2 separate regions of the Homo sapiens genome follow, and region 1 is linked to region 2. The links are contacts of gene promoters, found by promoter capture Hi-C in human tissues and cell types (Jung and others, 2019). All regions are on one chromosome and are shown on one strand. The core of a region is centred on a gene start or on the middle of the fragment in contact, and the rest is flanking DNA. Distances in the headings are between cores, read along the strand shown. Region 1 overlaps RALY (RALY heterogeneous nuclear ribonucleoprotein). Region 2 holds the start of PXMP4 (peroxisomal membrane protein 4).

The links. Contacts are between HindIII fragments. The study calls those that stand out against the background at their distance.
Region 1: a fragment that was not itself captured here is called in contact with the fragment with the promoter of PXMP4 in region 2 in 1 of the 25 tissues and cell types used here (H1 embryonic stem cells).

What each region holds. Positions count from the first base shown.
Region 1 is chr20:34,001,704-34,006,767 of GRCh38, reverse strand. The region is part of intron 1 of RALY (RALY heterogeneous nuclear ribonucleoprotein); the gene reads right to left. Among named protein-coding and RNA genes, the nearest start is that of RALY-AS1, 9.9 kb to the right of the region's middle. The HindIII fragment of the contact is 6,853 bases long and covers 1-5,064 here.
Region 2 is chr20:33,718,016-33,722,578 of GRCh38, reverse strand. It overlaps PXMP4 (peroxisomal membrane protein 4), which reads left to right and starts at 2,269. Exons shown (of 4, transcript NM_007238.5): 1 at 2,269-2,484. The coding sequence starts at 2,372. RefSeq lists an enhancer at 2,673-2,722. The HindIII fragment of the contact is 6,661 bases long and covers 1-2,523 here.

The DNA of each region.
Region 1 (5,064 bases), core at 556-3,055, 280 kb before region 2:
TATAGCATAGGCTGTATAGTTGCTCCTAGGCTACAAACCTATACAGCATGTTACTGTGTTGAATACTGTAGGCAACTGTAACATAATGATAAGGATTTGTGCACCTAAATATACAATGGGTACAGTAAAAAAAAAATGGTATTACAATCATATTAGACCACTGTCATATCTGTGGCCCATCACTGGCTGAAACATCTCTATGCAGCATGTGACTGTAGGAGGGACCATACAAATTAAACGAGACTTGAAGACTTAAGAACCATGTGTGGACTTTATATGAATCCTGAATCAAACTATCAAAATAAGGTTGTGACATTTACAAAACAATCGAACATTTGAACACGATCATCTGGATTTTGATTTTACTGAGGAACTGTTACACTTTATAAAGATGGTAATGGCATTATAATTGTTTTTAGAAGTCATCTTTTAGAGACACACTGTGAAATATTTAAGGACAAAATATGATAGCTGAGATTTTCTTCAAAGCACAAAATGAAGAAAAGTAGGTAGGGGTATAAATGAAACAAGACTGACAATGAATTGCTAACTGTTGAAGCCAAGTGATGGGTAAATCATATTTCATTAACCTATTCGATTTTGTGTATGTTTGAAATTTTCCATATTAAAAATAAAGAGGAATTGGTTAGGTTTCAATCCTAGCCAACTCCATCTATCATATCAGCAGCGTGACCACGGCATATCTTTCTTTTGTTTGTTTATAGCATCTTTATTCATAATTGACAAAATTTGGAAGCAACCAATGACACCTTCAATAGGTGGATAAACTGTGGCACATCCAGACAATGAAATATTATTCAGCATTAAACAGAAATGAGCTATCAAAACATAAAAAGACATGGAAGAAACTTAAATGGATATTACTAAGTGAAAGAGGCAAATCTGAAAAGGCTACATACTGTATGATTCCAACTGTATGACGTTCTGCAAAGACGTATCTGTGAAGACTATAAAAAGACCAGTGGTTGCCCACGGCATATCTCTTAACCTCCCTTTGTCTCAGTTTCCAATCTGTATGATCACGATCAATACAACCTACTTCTTAGGGTTGAGGTGAGAATGAAATAATATTTTATATGTATAAAAGGCTTCGCACATAGTAACCTTCAGTAAATATTAGCTCTATTAGTATAAACAAAAGGTACCAAGTATGATATCTCAACACAGTGGACACTCAATATCACTAATATGCAAGGCTGTGTTAACATTTAAAACCCAGGTCAGATTTTTTTTTTTTTTGAGAAAGAGTCTCACTCTGTCACCAGGCTGGAGCGCAGTGGCACGATCTTGGCTCATTACAACCTCCAACTCCCTGGTTCAAGTGATTCTCCTGCTTCAGCCTCCCCAGTAGCTGGGATTACAGGCACGCGCCACCACGCCCAGCTAATTTTGCTATTTTTAGTAGAGACGGGGTTTCACTACTCCGTCAGGATGGTCTCGATCTCCTGACCTCATGATCTGCCTGCCTCAGCCTCCCAAAGTGTCAGGATTACAGGCCATGAGCCACTGCACCCAGCCCATCAGATTTTTAAATCAACTACTCGACTAGTCTCCTCGAGAGGGGGCCTAGAAATTCTCTAGTGAATGTCCCTAGTGGCATCTCTAGCACCCTGTCTATCTTGACAAACACCCCGCGACCTGACACAGGATCAGAAGCTGACTAATGTTTAACATGAAAATGCTGCTCTCTGGAAGGAGGCAGGGCCACCCTATTTTCCCCAACCAGGTAATTTAAGGTACATTTTCTAATATTTGCTGACAGAACAAAGAGGAAAGGCTCTAAGACATGATCAATGTTCATGCCAACCTTCAAAGTGATTTGGTAAAACTACACAAAATAAACACCCAGCTAGGGTCCACCGGCAGGATAAAAGCTGACAAAGAAATGGCAATTTTTCCCTGAGCAAATATACAACTAATAGATGAGCTCTGAGAGACTAAGTTCTTTAGGTTTTAGTATTCCCTCCCCAACCATTTTAAGAAGAAAAACTCTCTTTTGATATACTTCAGGTATGACTGTTTACTGGATTAATTTCTTTCTTGAAATGATGTAAGTATAAGCAAAGAGCTCATTCTCATCCTTTTATCCAGTTTAAATACAAATTGGCTTCATAACGACATGACCTTGTTCTGCTCTGAGAGGCTATGAGAAGGTATCACCCATCTCCAAAGTGTGGGACACTTCCACCACCTGCTCATTAGCAGGAATATGGATACTACTCGGTCTAGTCATTCATCTGTGCCTCTACTCAAGTTGTTCCCATTGCACAGAATGTTCTCCATCTCTGCAGCCTAATCACCTGTGACCATTCTTTCTGGAAAAGGGGGGAAGGGAAGCACATCGGTTGAGAAAAGATAACTGGGTGTTGCTTCTGCATAGTATGGGAGATAAGGTACAGACATGGCAATATTGATTGGTATTTCATAATCTGTAAGTACAACCAGACAGAATATTAGAAATTAAAATGGTCCTGGACAACAGATGGTCATTATCCTTATCCTACAAAGTCCAGCACAAATACTCACTGGTCCACAAATGTTCCTTGGGAACTCCCCCTCTGCCCCTCCTCCATGTACAAAGGAAGCAATCTCTTCCCCTTCTGAACTTCCCAATCATTGTACCCCTTTATGGTACTTGCTATGTGAGAATTCATAGTATGGTTCTTAAAATTCATATCTATAACTACTAACCAGAATGGCTTCAAATGAAAAAGATAGACAATGCCAAGTATTTACAACAACACAGAACAACAGCAATTTTCTCATCACTAACCATGTAACCTGGTAGACCTTTTAAAACTGTTTGGAGGCCGGGCACGGTGGCTCACGCCTGTAATCCCAGCACTTTGGGAGGCGGAGGCGGGCGGATCACGAGGTCAGGAGATCGAGACCATCCCGGCTAAAACGGTGAAACCCTGTCTCTACTAAAAATACAAAAAATTAGCCAGGCGTAGTGGCGGGCGCCTGTAGTCCCAGCTACTTGGGAGGCTGAGGCAGGAGAATGGCGTGAACCCGGGAGGCGGAGCTTGCAGTGAGCCGAGATCCCGCCACTGCACTCCAGCCTGGGCGACAGAGCGAGACTCCGTCTCAAAAAAAAAAAAAAAAAAAAAAACTGTTTGGCATATTTACCAAAGGTAAACATATGCCTAACCTAGGACTTACAGTATGAGGTTAGAGAACACTTACTCACTGTTCCCGCTGAACAGTTCACCTCCAGTCTTTTGCTCCATCATTGCCCCTGTCCAGATGCTTTCATCACACTTTTTCCCAATCCCAGAGACCAGCTGAGATCACTCTCCCTGCTCCCTACAAAGAGATCGATCTCCCCTCTTAAGGAAAATTCTGCCACTTACCTATTACCACTGACAAATGACTGATGGATTCTTCACATATAAATTGTCTCATGTGATTTTACAACGTTCTAATTTGCTCCTCACAATACCATTGTGAGGAAGGCAAGATATGGAGTGTTAACCCCACTTCACAGATGAGAAAATGGAACTTCAAAGAGAGAGAAGATGACATCTCCAGTTTACATGGCCTTATTATTCCAGACCCCACAGGCAATGCTAAATTGTTGGAAGAAATCGGGAGCACAACACAGCATCCCAAGTAATATTTCTCTCTGAAGGGTAGGAAAGAGGGAAGAGCCCTTCAAAACCAGGAGAGCCTCAATGTGCCCACCATTTCCATTTACTAGGGCTCCTTGCTGCAAAGTGTTCAAAGGCGGCTGGCAGTGGCAATGGGCTTCACGAACTACAATATAAACACAATTATCAAATCACAGACTGATCAAATGCCAGAAACCACACCTCAGATAATTCCACCTGCATACAAAATAGAGCTATTTTATTTCAAAATAGAGCATAATAAAACTTAAAATAATTCAACATGAAACTTAATTTTCTTCATTTCTACATAAGAAGCGAGACAATACCAAATCTTCCTGAAGCCAGCCAGAGAACTGTGTGGGTGTCCAGATGCAGATATCTGGACACCTAAACCTGAAAGGAAATGTTGTCCCCTACTCTAATATTCTTGACTTTACACACTGGGTGTTGGACACCTTAGCAACAGAGGATAAATATCTGTAAAAAACAGAAGGGAGAGAAGGGAATGCCAAAAAAATAAAGTCTACACACTGGAAGTCAGATTATCAAACTGGTCTCCTTGTCTACTGATACAGCCACCAATTATGTTATTTTCCGTTTGAACCCTCAATCCAAATATATGAGCCAGGGCGGCAGGCTGGATTTGCTTTACTTATCTGTCTTCCTCTCAAGACTGAAAGTAATTTGTGGACAGGAATTATGTCTTGTTGGTTTTTATGTTTTCCATAAGAAGAACATATAGGAGGTACTCCAAATTCCTGGAACGAATGGTTGAGATTAGGGATGGAAGGCTGTTGGGACTCCCAAGCATAAATAATCATGCCACGGCAACTAAGTAACTTCCTCTGAACCCTAATTTTAGTAAGGGTTGATTTTAATTGGTGTAAGAATCAATTAGGGTGAATCTTTAAAGTCTGAAGAGAAGTTATTCTTGTGCTCAACTGATTCACGCACAGCCCTCATTATTACTTTGGCAGCAGCACCATTCCTCAGTACCACCTTACAGGTATCCGCAAAAACAAAATTCCAAAGCCTTAAATTAATGCTTCAGGTAAAAAGGAAACGACGTGGTCAGGCGCGGCTGCTCACGCCTGTAATCCCAGCACTTTGAGAGGCCGAGGTGGGCAGATCACCAGGTCAGGAGATCGAGACCATCCTGGCGAACACTGTGAAACCCCGTCTCTACTAAAAATACAAAAAAATTAGCCGGGCGTGGTGGTGGGCACCTGCAGTCCCAGCTACTCAGGAGGCTGAGGCAGGAGAATGGCATGAACCCGGGAGGCAGAGCTTGCAGTGAGCGGAGATCATGCCACTGCACTCCAGCCTGAGCAACAGAGCGAGACTCCGTCTCAAAAAAAAAGGAAACAACATTCGATTTCTCAGTATAGTGTGGTCATATCTCTTACCAAAAAAACCCAAATCTAGATAAATG
Region 2 (4,563 bases), core at 1,020-3,519:
CCAGGCTCAGGTGATCCTCCCGCACCTGTAGTTGGGACTACAGGTGTGTGCCACCAGGCCTGGCTAATTTTTGTATTTTTAGTAGAGATGGGTTTTCGCCATGTTGCCCAGGCTGGTCTTGAACTCCTGGGCTCAAGAGATCCACCCACCTTGGCTTCCCAAAGTGCCGGGATTACAGGCGTGAGCTACCTACCGCACCTGGCAGAGCTTCAGTGTTTTTTTGTTTTTGTTTTTGTTTTTTAATTTTTTAGAGACGGGGTTTCACCATGTTGGTCAGGGGTGGTCTCGAACTCCTGGCTTCAAGTGATCCGCCCGCCTCGGCTTCCCAAAGTGCTGGGATTACAGGCATGAGCCACTGTGCCCAGCCAAGGAACTTCAGTGTTTTTAAGAGGATATTTTAATATATTATCTAACATAGTCATTATCTTCAGAGGAAGGATGAACTGAATAAAGTAGCCTACCATCACAAAAGAAAAATCCCGGACAACCCAGTTTCAGTGACAAAATAGGCCCAGCACAACTCCCTCCTTCATTGACCTCTGAAATTGTCCCCTGACACTGAGCAAATAACATCACTGGTAAATACCATATGGCCCAAGTACCAGGGGACACCCTCACAAGTCACAGCCACCACTCAGTGTGTAGCTGTTATTCAGTGACAACTCCACATAGTGACATCATATGTTAATGTCACCCATCAATGCTCTCAGAGATGACAACCCAAAACTATGTGTTGCTTAAACAAGCAAGTGTTGAGTACCCACCATGTGCCTAGTGTTGGGGTTACAGCAGAAAACAAGACAAATAAGATTTCTTCCTTCATAGAATTTACAGTTTGATAAGGGCAATGGACAATGAACACATAGTAAACAAGTCTAAAGTGTCAAAAGTTCTATAAAAAAAAAAAACACATAAGAACCAGGGTGGCCGGGCACGATGGCTCACATTTGTAATTCCAGCACTTTGGGAGGCCGAGGCGGGCGGATCACAAGGTCGGGAGTTTGGACTAGCCTGGCCAATATGGTGAAACCCCGTCTTTACTAAAAATACAAAAATTAGCCGGGCGTGGTGGCATGCACCTGTAGTCCTAGCTCCTCAGGAGGCTGAGGCAGAAGAATCCCTTGAACCTGGGAGGCAGAAGTTGAAGTGAGCTGAGATCACACTACTGCGCTCCAGCCTGGGTGATAGATCCGAGACTCAGTCTAAAAAAAAAAAAAAAAAAAAAAGAGCCAGGGTAATGAGTCAGAGTGGACAGTGCTACTTCAAATTGGATGTCTCAGAAAGTCTCTCTGATGAAGTGGCATTTGAGCTGAAACCTGAAGGATGAGAAGAAGCCCATCATGGGAAGAGCCCAGGATGGCGAATATCAAGCAGGGAACCAGCAAGTGCAAAGGCCCTGAGGTAGAAGGGTTCTTGGCCCAAGGAACAGAAAGGAGGCTGTTTGGCTGGGAAGCAGTGAGGTGGCAAGTGCTGGAACGTGGGGTCAGAGGGAGAGGCACGGACCAGATCACAGGAGGTCTTCTCTCTTGGGCCTTGGGGAGGAGTTTGGATTCTAAGAATAAGTGGACGCCGGCTGGGTTCACGCCTGTAATCCCAGCACTTTGGAAGGCCGAGGCAGGTGGATCACCTGAGGTCAGGAGAGCAGCCTGGCCAACATGGTGAAACCCCGTCTCTACTAAAAATACAAAAAAATTTGCCAGGCATGGTGGTGGGTGCCTGTAGTCCCAGCTACTCAGGAGGCTGAGGCAGGAGAACTGCTTGAACCCTGGGGGGTGGAGGTTGCAGTGAGCCGAGATCGCGCCACTGCACTCCAGCCTGGGTGACAGAGCGAGGCTGCATCTCAAAACATACATACGTACATGGAAGCCATTGAGGGGCCATGTGACTGACACTCTGGGAAGATCGCTATGGTAAAGGATATCCCAGTCAGAACTATCTCGCATAAAGATGGGGCCCTGCTCCTCCCTGTATCATCACCTGTCGCCCATCCCATCTCTAAGCAGGGCCACTCCTCATTCAGGAGCCCTCCTTCCAAGTACACGCCTCCTTCCAAACCCACTCGTGAACCCAACATGGCCCAAGGGAAAGTGCCTTCTGATTGGACAAATCGTGTGTGACCTTGGGCGGAGCCCACTGTGATTGGCTACAAGCTTTCCTTTCTCTTCCAGTCAGACAACTATTTCGATGAGTGCTATTGTCCCATGAGACAAGTACGCTCTCTGATTGGTCTTCCATGCATGAGTGACGCAGAAACAGCCTATAGACGCCACGAGTCGGCGGCGCTACCGAGGGGCTGTGGGCGCGCAGCTGGAACCTCCGGCTGTCAGTGCGCTTACAGTTCCTAACCCCGACCCTGCGCGCAGCCCGCACTATGGCAGCCCCGCCGCAGCTAAGGGCTCTGCTCGTAGTCGTCAACGCACTGCTGCGCAAGCGCCGCTACCACGCTGCGTTGGCCGTGCTTAAGGGCTTCCGGAACGGGGCTGTGTGAGTGGGGCCGTCGGGCCGGGCTGGGGCTGAGGGATGTCCTGCCTGGGGTCAGAGGCGCGAGTTCGAAGTCCGATGCCGCGGTGCTGTTTGCCCTGGAGCAGTCCTCGTGTGTCTCTAAGTCTCGGAGGTCACCATCTGTGCAATGGGAGCTGGATTTTGGCTTGCGCGCCTTCCCAGCTCTGAACTGGGGCTCCCACTGCACATTTTCTGGGTCTTCCAACCTTTGCAGCCTGGCCCTCTTGCTTTGACTCCTCCCATGCCAGCTTCTGTATCCCCTCATTTGGGTTCAGTTCACCTCACCTCTCTGTGTGCCTTTGGGCCTCAACGGCCCCATCTGCACAATGGGGAACTGGACTCTGGCCTCTAGCTGGCAGGCGGATGCCTCCTGTCTATTCTGTCCCCATGAAGCTTGCCCATGGGCTTGCATCCTGCTTCTCACTTCTCACCTGTAGGACTCCAGCGCTAAGTCCCGTTCGGCTCAGGGGGCTCCTGGGACGTGACAATGAATGTAAAAGAAGCTGCAACTATCCTGGCATCTTACCTGCAAGAGAGGTCTTGGGGTCATTGCCCTGGCTGGTGCCTAGAGGGGAGCTCAGTCTCCTTTAAACCTAGTGCATAACAGCCACCATTTATTGAGGGCCTACAGTGCCAGAACCGGGGACAAAGCAGAGAACAAACCAGAGAAAGTGGTTTGTGTCCCCCAGAATTGGCATCCTAGTGGCAACGTGGGATGGTGGGAAGGATGTGGATGCCTTGGCTTGAACCCTGGCCCCACCTACCCGTGTGATCTGGAGGAAGTCATTTAGCCTCTCTAAGCCTCAATATCTGTAAAATGGGCATGGTACTAGTACTTATACTATCAGGATTGAGTCAATATGTGTGAAATGCTTAGCACAGGCTGGCCACGGTGGCTCACACCTGTAATCCTAGCACTTTGGGAGGCCGAGGCAGGCGGATTATCTGAGGTCAGGAGTTCGAGACTAGCCTGGCCAACATGGCAAAACCCCGTTTCTACCAAAAATACAAAAATTAGCCGGGTGTAGTGTCACATGCCTGTAGTCCCGGCTACATGGGAGGCTGAGGCAGGAGAACCGCTTGAACCCAGGAGGTGGAGGTTGCAGTGAGCTGAGATTGTGCCACTGCACTCCAGCCTGGGTGACAGAGTGAAACTCCATCTCAAAAGGAAAAAAAAGAAAGTTTCATGAGGCCATAACTTTATCTATTTTGTTCCTTGGTGTATTACTAGCACCTGGTATTTAGTAGTTTCTGAAATATTTATTGAATGAATGAATAAGTGTGCAAGATCAGAATTGCCATTGTCCCCATTTTCCAGATGAAAAGGCTGTAGCTCAGAGGTAGACCCATTGCTCGTGGCCACAGCACTTGGTCACGGTTGGAGCCGGGATTCAAACCCAAGGATGCCTGGCACCAGTGCCAGGCTCTTGGCTCCCATGGACACTCAAGAGTCAGGTAGAACTGGTTCCCACTGGGTCTGGCCAAGGGCATATCCTTGATGTGCCCTGAGATAACATCAGTAACCCTTTTGCCAAGTTTTTTTTTTTTTTTTTTTTTTTTTTTTTTGAGATGGAGTGTCGCTCTGTTGCCCAGGCTGGAGTGCAGTGGCGCAATCTCGGCTCACTGCAAGCTCCGTCTCCCAGGTTCACACCATTCTCCTGCCTCAGCCTCCTGAGTAGCTGGGACTACAGGCACCCACCACCACGCCCGGCTAATTTTTTTGTATTTTTAGTAGAGACAGGGTTTCACCGTGTTAGCCAGGATGGGCTCGATCTCCTGACCTCGTGATCGGCCTGTCTCGGCCTCCCATTGTGCTGGGATTACAGGCGTGAGCCACCACACCCAGCCTTGGACACAGGTTTGATTCCAGTCTTTTGTTTTTTCAAACAAGCCTGCAGTGAACATTCATGTATATTTGGGGAGACAATAGTATGTGGCTCATGACCATTGTCTCAAGGAGGCTGTCAGGATTTTTAGACCTTGTAGCCTGGTAAGACCAGGGTTGGGTACCTGGAGAACTTAGGGATAGGGGTAGGGGTGGAGGTGTCCAATAAAGAAGAG